Regions from separate parts of the Homo sapiens genome. Here all the other regions are linked to region 3. The links are contacts of gene promoters, found by promoter capture Hi-C in blood cells and fetal thymus (Javierre and others, 2016). All regions are on one chromosome and are shown on one strand. The core of a region is centred on a gene start or on the middle of the fragment in contact, and the rest is flanking DNA. Distances in the headings are between cores, read along the strand shown. Region 1 overlaps ADGRF5 (adhesion G protein-coupled receptor F5). Region 2 overlaps ADGRF5 (adhesion G protein-coupled receptor F5). Region 3 holds the start of ADGRF1 (adhesion G protein-coupled receptor F1).

Evidence for each region. Contacts are between HindIII fragments. The CHiCAGO score rates a contact against its expected background, and 5 or more counts as called.
Region 1: a contact is called between a fragment that was not itself captured here and the fragment with the promoter of ADGRF1 in region 3, in 1 of 17 cell types (endothelial precursors). The highest score is 6.5, in endothelial precursors.
Region 2: a contact is called between a fragment that was not itself captured here and the fragment with the promoter of ADGRF1 in region 3, in 1 of 17 cell types (endothelial precursors). The highest score is 5.1, in endothelial precursors.

What each region holds. Positions count from the first base shown.
Region 1 is chr6:46,888,454-46,892,448 of GRCh38, forward strand. It overlaps ADGRF5 (adhesion G protein-coupled receptor F5), which reads right to left. Exons shown (of 21, transcript NM_001098518.2): 4 at 1-52. Among named protein-coding and RNA genes, the nearest start is that of ADGRF5-AS1, 13 kb to the right of the region's middle. The HindIII fragment of the contact is 1,439 bases long and covers 1,389-2,827 here.
Region 2 is chr6:46,907,626-46,911,601 of GRCh38, forward strand. All of the region lies in intron 1 of ADGRF5 (adhesion G protein-coupled receptor F5), which reads right to left. ADGRF5-AS1 (ADGRF5 antisense RNA 1) reads left to right here. Exons shown (of 4, transcript NR_110658.1): 3 at 243-389; 4 at 1,119-2,404. Among named protein-coding and RNA genes, the nearest start is that of ADGRF5-AS1, 6.1 kb to the left of the region's middle. The HindIII fragment of the contact is 923 bases long and covers 2,015-2,937 here.
Region 3 is chr6:47,039,621-47,043,627 of GRCh38, forward strand. ADGRF1 (adhesion G protein-coupled receptor F1) reads right to left here and starts at 2,712. Exons shown (of 15, transcript NM_153840.4): 1 at 2,571-2,712. The HindIII fragment of the contact is 2,028 bases long and covers 2,132-4,007 here.

The sequences.
Region 1 (3,995 bases), core at 858-3,357, 150 kb before region 3:
CTGATCTCAATATTAACAGTGTATTCTTCAGCCGTAGGACTTTTTGTGGCAACTGCAATGAAAGCACATGAAGGCTGAGAGAACTTACCATGGGAGATGGAGTAAGATCATGATGGATATTTCAGCAGTTAAAGGTAATGACAGGTACATGTGAATGGTTGGTCTATCAACCCTTAGGAATTTCTAATGAAATCTTTAGAGAAAAAGAAGGTTTATTTACTCACCACCTTGGTGTCCAAGGCCAAGCACTGCTGTGTGAAGTATGGAATGTAACGAGGCAAGAGCGGAAGCAGAGAGAATAGCAGGGAGGGTCTGGGAACTGTTCGGGCAAAATATGTCACAGTCAGGACTCAAAGGAGTGAGTCAGTGTTTCATCTGCAGTATGCATCATTCGATAGATGCACACTCTAAGGGCTGAACCATGCATGGATTGAAGACATCTGGGAAAAGTCACCCAGTTAATTCTCTTTGCCCTTAGCCTATGGAAACAGCATATATTCTTTGCTCTTCCTCTGTATCTCCAGTGTTCAGAACTGGACACTGCTTTTGTTGAGGTGCTCAACAAAAGTTTGGCAAATTGGATAGTAAAATAAAAGAGATTTTCAGCTCTTCATTGTTTTTCCAAATTGTCTCCGGGTGGTTACCTGGCTTGCATTCAAGATGGATCTGTTCCCCAACACACAGCTACATCAGGCAGGCTAATATATATGTATATGTGTGTGTATGTGTATACATATATATATATATATATAAAATATATAGAGAGAGTATATATAGTATATACAGTCTCTATATAGAATTATATATATAGACTACTATATATACTATATAGTATATATAGTACAGTATATATAGTATAGTAATATAGTATATATAGTCTATATACAGTAGTCTATATAGAGTAGTCCATATACAGTCTATGTATAGAGACTACATAGTCTTTGTATAGTATATATACTACATAAAGTATAAAGACTATAGTCTTTATATAGTATATATACTAAAGTCTATATATAGTATGCTATATATAGTCTAAGTTTATATATAGAGAGAGACTATATATAGTCTACTCTATGTTTATATAGACACTATATATATATGTGTGTGTGTGTGTGTATATATATATATATATATATATATAGTCTGGCCTGCCTGAGGTAGGTGTGTGTTGAGGAACAGATCCACCTTGACTATGGTAGTCTATATTGACTACTATATATACATATATAGACTATATTTAGACTGTCTAGTCTAGTCTATATATATAGTCTGTACAAACGTTATATATTATATATAAACACTATATATAATATATTATGTGTGTGTGTATATATATATATATATATACATAGTTTTCTATACCACATCATGTCTGGGCCACAGTTTTAAGCTTCCCAAGAGCAGGAACTGTTTCTTTCATGTTTCTTTCACTTCTCTTAGCCTTACTTACTCCATCTGGCAAAGAGCTCACCACATTATAAATAAATGACGAATCAATTCTTGTTAAACCTGAAACTCTCTGTCACTGACCAGATCTATGACCTAATCTTGGCTAGAATATATAACTGAAGCCATGGCCACAGTTAATACTTAATAAAGAATCTTCAAGGAATAAGAAAGTTTTACACAGATAAATTGAGAATATTTTTCTTTTTTCTGGACAGGACCTCTCTCTGTCGCCCAGGCTGGAGTGTAGTGGCACGACCTTGGCTCACTGTGACCTCCACCTCCTGGGCCCAAGTGATTCTCTGGCTTCAGCCTCCCGAGGAGCTGGGACTACAAGCTCATACCATCACGGCCAGCTAATTTCTGTACTTTTTGTACAGATGGGGTTTCGCCATGTTGCCCAGGCTTGTTTTGAACTCTTGGGCTCAAGCGATCTGCCTGCCTTGGCCTCCCAAAGTGCTGAGATTATAGTCATGAGCTGCTGTGCCCAGTCATTGAAAATATTTTATCTTGTCAGTTAAATAAGGAAAAAAGTAGGGCGGGCGCCATGGCTTACGCCTGTAATCCCAGCACTTTGGGAGGCCGAGGCGGGCAGATCACTTGAGGTCAGGAGTTCGAGACCAGCCTGGCCAACATGGGAAACCCCGTCTCTACTAAAAGTACAAAAATTAGCTGGGCATGGTGGCGTGTGCCTGTAATCCCAGCTACTCAGGAGGCTGAGGCAGAAGAATCGCTTGAACCCAGGAGGCAGAGGTTGCAGTGAGCTGATATCGTGCCACTGCACTCCAGCCTGGGCGGCGAGAGACACTCTATCTCAAAAAAAAGAAAAAAATAAGGAAAAAATTAGTGAATACTTATAAAATGATTACTTTAAAATTTACATTCTATCTGAAAAGATGAAGTTTATTGTACCATAAAGTTAAAATTCTATGTTAAAAGGGCAAAAAATTTTCCCATAATATTTCAAGATTTAAATATTCCAAGGACTCTTGGTGTGAAATACTAAAATAGAGTAAGTTTATCCTGGGAAACTCTAATTGTTGAATGTTTATTTCAGAAAGCTGTAACATTTGTTCATTTAGCTTGGAAAACTGTTTGTCTTAGGTCTTTGGATTTACCCATCAACCTTGTTGAGAATTATTTCATCCTGGCATCATTCAGCTTCTGCAATTAACTCAGCCTATAAAAAAGGTCTGTCGCATATTTTCCTAAAATTAAGAGTGAATATTAAGGTATACTTCTTCTTTATAAAAATGTATTTGACAAATAGAATAAAGTGACTTTTATAAGAATGCGGAAACTCAGCCTGTGATGATAGTATGGCATTGCCTAAAATTTCCTGTTGACTTTCTGATTCTCCAATGGTTCTGTGATGAAAACAAGCTTCCTGGAAGAATGGTTAATCTTATTTTATGTGATTCTAACTATGGACACATTATGTGGTCCACTGGGAATATTTACGAGGAGAAAGGCTGCATAATATTTACAAGTTCTGCCTTAGCGCACATTCTTTTTCCTGAAAAGTAATGCAGCAACGTTTATATCCTCCAGAGGGTTCACTACCTCCAGGATCCTCTTTGCCATGCCAGTCTACTATCCTCCCATAAATATAAACAGGATTTCCTGGATGGTAGCTGCCTTTTGGATGGGTGAGGTCAGTAACAAATTCATATCATATCCACTTCATTACTGGCTTTGTTGAATCCCAGGACCTGATCCCACAAAATATCAATGCCTGCCTGAGGGTCATGTCTGCCCCTGTGCTCTTTTCAGTCACAACTGAAGAACAAGTGTGTGCCTAGAAAGCACATGGTGATTCACGGATGTTATCACTCCCCATTGAAACCAAGGCAGTTCTGCTCAGATTTTACAAGGAGCCAAGCCAAAGCATCAAGAACTAAGAGGAAAGGCTCTTGTGACCTTAGCAAGTTTCAGTCTATAGCATTCCTGCAGCTGTTAATGTGAGCACCCAGCCTCTAAGGACCTCTTTCCTTTACCTTTTATGTTCTCCAACAGCTTCTAAAAAGAGTTTCAGAATCACCCTCAGCCTGAGCGTCACCTCTGTAGAAACTGATATGGATGGGGAACCTCGAATAGAGAAGGAAATGCCTTCTCCTTGAAAATACTCAATTATTTGAAACAGGCTCAAAAACACCACTGTAATTTAGCAGGCTGTTGGCTTACTCTCGGAAATCATCTACTCCAGTGATCCCCAAACTTAACTGAGGATTACATACACCTAGGGAATACACAAATACACACACACACACACACACACACACACACACACACACACACACACACACACACAGAAAGAGAGAGAGAGATTTTGGAGCTCAGCCCATGTGAACCAAAGTAAATGGGACCACTTTGTAAACTTTAAAGTACTATTAAAAATATGAGTTATTATTGTTAAATGTGTCTTTAGAACTTTGATATACAATTCCTAAAGTAAATTCTAAAATAAAATCAAGTTCAAAGGCAAAATGATTAATAATAAATCAAAGAATTATGTAAGCCTTTGTTTAATTTTATTCAACATAATAAAT
Region 2 (3,976 bases), core at 1,226-3,725, 130 kb before region 3:
CTCCACCCTAGAAGGTCTAGGGACCAAGACAATCTACTTTGTGCACACTCCTCTCCTTGTAGCTTTTCTATGCCCAGGTGTTGTTGTGAAAAGAATGCTAGACTGAGAGACACAAGATATGGGTTAGGATCCAGGATTACTAGAAACTAACTGTGTCCTGTGTAAGTAATTTGTCTTCTCTGAGTCCAAGTTTTCCCATCTGTAAAACGGGGATAATTGTACCTCCCCTAATTCTCTCACAGAGTTTTCTGAGACTCGAATGAGATTAAAAGGCATGAAGAACTCCAGAAATGCAGGCTGCAATAATTATTACTCTGATCGTCAATAGAATCCAGAATGCAACCATCCAGAAGGGCAGGCTTTGGCTGCAGTGTTGCAGGGAGCGCCAGGTAAGCATGGCCAGGATAACACACTGATGATAGGCAAGATTTACATGCCAGGGAAAATTGTATTTCAATTGCCAGCTGACAACTGCCACCTTTTCCTCTTCCTCAGTGGAAAACTGGAAAACTGATCCAATTTGCAAATTTGGCAATCAAACACATTTTTTAAATTCTGCAACTCAATGGTTTGGGGGAAATGCTTTGCAATTTAGGTTATAGTAGTTGTTTAAGACCAGATGCATCTGCTATGGGGAAATCATAGCAATGTACTGCTTAATTTTCTATTGGAAGTTTTATCTTCCTTTTTGAAAGACAGTGTGTCTTTGTGGGTATTGAACAGGCTAATACAGAATGAGTCAGGTATTTAGGAGGCAAAGTAGTCTTTTCAGGCCCCAACCTCAGTTGGTTCCCTACTGAGGCAGTTAATCAAGGAGACGAGACTTAGTAACTGAATAGTTAATGAGCCTCCCTTCGAATCTGATAACCAAGGAAGAACTCACATACTAGAAGGACTAGAGCTGGCTCCATATCTTTCTACGATTTCCCAGTGTTGGCATTGCATCCTTTTTTTGGTCAGTTAGCAAGAATTACAATGTTTTCAAATAGTCATGTCTGGCCCTTTTGTACAGGCCATTGGCCAATACTGTCCCCATCTTCCCCCACCCCTGCCTCTGCTGAGACTATTTTTAATAAATTAACATTCTTATCTATGTTGACTTATTTGTTGACAACAAGATTGCAAGCCAAAAGAAATGGAGATGTAGGAAGGATGCTACCACGGGGAGGCGGGTGTTCTCTGGATGCAGAAGATGATATACAGTCATCAGTTACACACAAATGTCAGGGATTCTTCACTCAAAAGAAAGGAGAAAGCCACCACTTTGAAAGAAAGGAAATAGTCAATATATTTGACAACCTGTATGGAATGGACCTGACCAATGGGAACAGTGACACGAGCTGAAATTCACTTCAGCTTTTGGGGTTGCTGCCACACTTGGGTAGAGACCTAAAGATCAACTTTTCTTTAACCTGCATCATTAATCGTATAAACCTTCCAGCTCACAGGTATCCATACCTGTGAGGAAGCAAGCAAAAACTGTTTAACTTGGCCAATGTGGGGGAAAAGTCTATATTCATCCAGTTAAAAATATGGAGCAGCATCCCATATTCAAGGCAGTTTGTCTTCAGTAGGGGCCCTTTAATGCTAAATTCCCTAAAAGTTCATATTTCTTCTAAAATTCCTGGAGTAAACGGCAGACAAAGACTGAGAGACAAAGAGAGAAACAGAGGCAGAGAAAGAAAGAACATTATCAGATGTCATTCCCGATCTCCTTCTCTTTTTAAATTAAAATCCAGGACACTCTCTACTAAAACTCACCAAAGCTGGGAAATATGCCCTAGCCCTCAGTATTAGCCTTGCGGCTCTGAGCAACTTCCTGGTCTCCTCTGACTCTATTTTCCTGTCTGTGAAGTTAGAAGACAGGGAGAGGAAAATAAAGCACAGCCTGACATCATATGCCAGGAATAAGTCATCAAGATTCTCAGCAACACTGCATCTGGAGGATGAATGATCTGGGTTCCCTGAAGCCACCATTAATGGCATTCTCTTGCAGAGTGATTATGCACCAGGAAGCTTCACTGTGGAACTGGCCTGTTCTTACAACCCTTAGAAACAACCGGTGCTGGCTGGGTGTGGTAATGCATGCCTGCAATCCCAGCATTTTCAGAGGGCAAGGAGAAAGGATCACTTGAAGCCAGGAGTTCAAGACCAGCCTGAGCAACAAACTGAGACTCTGTATTATACCAAAACAAACAAAAACAAAAAAGTTTTTTTTTTTGTAAATAGCCAGGTGCACTGGCATGCACCCATAATCCTAGCTACTCAGGGGGCTGAGGTGGGGAGATGGCTTGAGTCCATGAGCCCTGGAGTTCGAGGCTGCAGTGAGCTATGATTTCACCATTCTAGTCCAACCTCTAACAGAGCAAGACCCTATCTCTCAATAAAATAAAATAAAATAAAATAAAATAAAAAATAGAGAAACAATCAGTGCTTAAGATCAACTCTTCTCTTAGAAATCCTTCATCAGCCCTGAGATCAGAAAACTAGGCCTAGAAAGAGCTGAGTGTCTCAGAGCTCAGAGGTGGCTAGGAGCTGAGTTCGTCAGAACTCCAAGAGATCTACCAATGATTCTCAAAATTTTAGCCAATGATATCCTCCGACAGTTGGAGCAACCATTTATGATAGGATTGTGGGTAATAATTGCTGGTGGTTATTAATTGGCTATTAATTATAATTGGTGGGTAATAATTGCTGGTGACAATGACTGTAGGATAGGATTGTGGGTAATAATTGCCAGTGGTTATTAATTGGTTATTAATTATAATTGGTGGGTAATAATTGCTAGTGAAAATGAATGTAGGAGTCCTGTCTTACTGGGTGCTCACTATATTCTAGGTCTGCTGCTGAGCTCTCTGCAAGGGTTACGCCCTCTAACCCTCTCAAGGAGCCTCTGATACTATTAAATTACCCCCATTTTTCAGACATGGAAAAGGAAGCTTAGAAGGATGATTAATTCACTGAGGCCACACAGCTGATAGACGGTAGTGGCAAAATTATAAACAAAGCAGTCTATTCTCCTGAGAACAAGGTGCCATTTGAGCTAAGAGATTTTCTTGGTGGGAAATCAACCAACCAACCAAACAAACAAACAAACAAACAAACAAATTATAAGTTATAGACACCTGACCAGGCAACTGGAAAAAAACTTCTAGCCTCATTTTGCCACTAATTAGCTGTGTGATGTGGGGCAAGTCACTTTATCTCTCTGAGCCTGTTTTCTTATCAGTAAATCCAGGGATTTGACTGCACTCAATAATTTCAAAATTGGGATGCAGGAGTTGGTCTCTTGAAGTCCTGTTACTATTTTAAGAGTCTAAAATTCTTCACAGTTATTTCAACTCAAATGCAGGCTCACTCTGGTTAACTTCTGAGAATAATCATAACTATCTTGCATTTATCTCACCACTTCTGACTTACTACACAGTCTAGGCCTTCTCTGCCCCTCATGTACACCATGGCAATGGCTTCCCTTCTTTACTTCTCTGCTCCCTCTCTACAGAGAGGCAAGATGGGTTTTCCTGAAGTACTCTTCACACAACATTCCCTGTTCAATTTTTCCCTGCTTTCAGAATAAAGGAAATCACTTTCACTGATCCTCAAGGCTCTCCATAACCTGGACTTTATTTAGAAGAGTTAGCATATGTAATAAGCATCTATAATACTTTCACTACCAAAGTCAGCTGCTTTTTCATAAGTTAAAATAGTGCAAGAGATTTTCCAATGCTCACGCAAAAGTAAAAATGCCAAGTCAAACTTTGAGAATTAATTTTGGGGAGGGACAGGAGTAATTACTGTCAAACAATTTTTCTGTGTTTGGCGAAACCAAAATAACCCTATCATTTATTTGGTTTATTAATCTCCATCTTTTCCTGTCCCCTAACCCCACACAATCACTGCATATTCAGATTCTACCCATCCTTCAATGCCCAGGCAAAGGGCTCCCTCACAGATGAAGGTTTCCTGATCTGTCCAG
Region 3 (4,007 bases), core at 1,462-3,961:
CCTTTTGTACTATCCCTCCAAGATCCTAAATTGTTTTCACATCTATTAAAACCATGTATCTCTGGGCATGGTGGCTCACGCCTGTAATCCCAGCACTTTGGGAGACCAAGGCCGGTGGATTACTTGAGGTCAGGAGTTTGAGAAGAGCCCAGCCAATATAGTGAAACTCTGTCTCTACTAAAAATACAAAAATTAGCCAGGCGTAGTGGCAGATGCCTGTAATCCCAGCTACTCAGGAGGCTGAGACAGGAGAATTGCTAGAACCTGGGATGTGGAGGTTGAGGTGAGCCGGGATTGTGCCGCTGCACTCCAGCCTGAGCAACAGAGTGAGAAACTCTGTCTCAAAAATAAATAAATAAATAAATAGATAAATAAAATAAAATAAAACCATGTATCTATCCAGTCAAGAAATCTGAAGGCCTTGAAATCTTGCGAGCACTACTCTGCTAAGACAAACACAATTTAGGAAAATCCCAAGACATATGTATTTGGCAACAGCGTTTCCCCTTCTCTACAAGCTATGGGTGTTCCCTGCCAAAGAACATTAAAAAGAGAACCAGGTGGCTGAGCGTGGTGGCTCACGCCTGTAATCCCAGCACTTTGGGAGGCCGAGACAGGAGGATCACGAGGTCAGGAGATCAGGAAATTGAGACCATCCTGGCCAACACAATGAAACCCTGTCTCTAATAAAAATACAAAAAATTAGCCAGGCATGGTGGTGGATGCCTGTAGTCCCAGCTACTCGGGAGGCTGAGGCAGGAGAATGGCGTGAACCCGGGAGGTGGAGCTTGCAGTGAGCCGAGATCACGCCACTGCACTCCAGCCTGGGCGACAGAGTGAGACTCCGTCTCAAAAAATAAAATAAAATAAAAAAAAAAACAGGCAAAATATTTTGAAAGTTACAAATATAAACATTTAGATTAGGTAGGTTACACAGCACAGTTTCCTAAGGGTGTCCTTAAGCAAAATTGTGAATTCAGTGACACTTGTCCCGGGGATGCCACTCCCCCACTTTCTGACTTGTGCACCCTTGTGACGCACACCCCACCACTGCTAATGCCCTCAGATACCCAGTGCCCTCTTGCTCCTGCCAGTTTTTACTTTACTTACTCTCAGCCAAAGCACTAAAATCATTTATTTATATCCAAATTTGAATGAATGTGTTCATTTACTTTTTTAAAGAGATGTTTGCATTCCTTTAGTTGTGTAATGAAAGACATTAGAAGGCACATTGTTGTGAAAGTATGGTGCTTTCCTTGCCCTCAGCCCAGCAACAGACAGACCCTGTTATTGGGACACTGTCCCTGTTTTTTAAGAAATTTACTCTACTTTTGGAGAAGAAAGACATACAAGGCATCCAACAATAATTCACATCAGCTTGGGGTTGTGCACAAAAGGTGAGTTTGCAAGTTGAGCTTGTCAGACTCCACAGGCATACACTCCTATTTCCAATCTTAACGCTTATTGGCACCATTTTACAAATGAAATAACCAGGATAAGACAACTAAATAATTTGCTCAATGTTTTACTACTTGTCAAAGGTTGAATAAAGTATTATGGGACCATTATTAGAACACTGTTGTCAATTTGGGTTATGGTTAGATAATGAGTGGTGTTTTCTTAATGACAACAGAGCATAATAAAAGGCTTGTGTTAATATTCTAACATATTAAAGAATGTACTTTTATTTATTTTTTGTTATTCTTGCCTCTGTTTGTAATTTCCAGCCCATGAATGCTATTATCAAGTTGAGCTTAATGGATCTCAGCATGAAAAAGCCAAGGTCATCACTTCTCCACACCTCTCCCACCTTGACCTTCTTTCTATATCTCCTTCGGTATTTTTCCTTCATGTAGTCTCTGGCATGGTACATTACATAGGCTATCAGGTTTACATAAATGGATTTTTCATGAAAACAAAGAAAAGAGAAAAGAAAAATTATATATTTTCAAGGCCTCTACTAAGAAAATACAGTGTGACATTTTATATTTATTTGGGGAAGTAGCAGGAGAAATGGTTAGTCAATTCTAGGGTTTTTTGGAGTCCTGGGAAGGAGTTAAATTGAGAAGTACTTCCTGGATATATATGGATCCAGGCAAAGCTTAAACTAATTCACCCTAAAGGAAAAATAAGCTTAATTCTCTCAAGCATAATTTTATTTTAAGAGATTGCAAGGGTTAACGTATTATGAATTAGTGAAAACCATATGACTGATACTTTAACAAGTATCTTTGGTGGAGCCCTTTTTATTCTAGGCAATCTACCTCCCTGGCACATCAGAACAATGGGGTTCCTGTGTTATCACAGAGGGAAGAGTGTGCTTTCAGTCAGAAAATCTGGAGCTTGAGCCTCAGCCAATCACCTCATTATAGTTAGTAAGCGGGTTGAAATCTGTTGTTTCTGCTCATTGCTTTTTCAACTCTGTTCCCTTATTTAACCATCTTCAGGAAATGATACATTGAAATCAGAATTTTTTTTTCAAGGAGAGAAAAAATAATCTCAGATTAACAGGTAGTACTGGTCATCGTAATACACGTTCTTAGTAATCAAAGTACAGTTATTGGGCTTACCTGGTGATTTATCTCTTCACACCAGAACTCGAGGGAGCCCTTCCTTCAGTATACTTGTGGCTCAATCACTTCTTATGCTGTTTGGAAAGAAAGTATCAGTATCTGAGCCACAGCAGCTCACTGGCATGAACACAGGCTCACTGATCCATCAGCAATTCCTGGCACGCATTACTGCCTGTGCAGGTAGACAAGCCTGGGACACACCCCCTTCAAGAAGGAAACAAAATACTTTTCTCCTAACTCCCCCTCCCGCTTAAAGTCACTATCAGGTCTGGTAAGAGGAAGGAGCACAGAGCTCAAGACTTAATGATTCTCCCAGCAGACATAAATGGGTGTCTGAAATCACAGAAGGGAAATGGGAGAGAAAAGCTCTAGGGGAATGTGGAACACTTTTGCCCTAGATCGGTTTACTACAAAATGCTACTCCATCAAATCTTCCTGTCCAACCTCTGAACACACTGGGTCATACCCTATAAAGCTGAAGGAATGCAGCCCTTCATGCATAATTCCAATGAGGAGAGGTGGGTAATTCCTGTGGGGCAGAAATAAGGGTAGATACTGTTTTTCCTTTTCCAACTTTTTTATTTAAGACTAAAGAATCAACTAGCTACTTTCCCAGATAAAACAACCTCAGACTTCTGGGTGGGGTAGTACCAAAGGAGCTGTGGCAAAAGACAGCAACAGGGTGGATGCTGGGGTGAATGCTTTTGGTGTGTTTTTTGTGCTTAGAAAACCTAGAGTGAAACCTGATTAACTTCTTTAGTAAAGATTTGTTTTCTTTCCAAGGAGTCATCCAGTTTGAAAACTATGAAAGGTCAAGATTATTATGTGCTGTATCTTTAGCCACATTGGCTCATAAATTACTTTTGGTCAAGGTAATGAGCTACTAACAACCACGTCTAAATTAGCAATTTGTAATTCTGTTATGGAATAATGAAGGGGATAATAATATGTTAATTCTCAAAAATGCCACTGAAAAGAAAGCAAAGGATGTCTCTGAATTCAATTAATTTATTAATTTTCTTTTGTTTCTTTTAAGCACTCCACGTTTTACAAATGACTTGAGCTGGCTTACAATGTTAATGCATAAAATAAAATAGTGTGAGAATAAAAATTTTAAAATCATTATAAAACCTCTATATAAACTATAAAAAAGGAAACTATAAAGAGTCAATTAAGAAAAGTGATGCAAATAATAATCCCTGAAATTATTGTTTCATAAATTTGAAACTTATCTCTAGGACAGAACTTCCTAACAGTTAAAGAAAAGGGGAAGCTAGTCAGGTACACTGTTCTCACAATCAGGAAAGAGGAAGCATCTATGTTTTCATGAAAGAGTAAGTAAATTCTAATAGAAACATCTTTTTTAGAGTGAACAATATTCCCGTCAACATTTGAGCTTCTAATTGCATGTTGAAGACCTTTAGTGCTATGTGG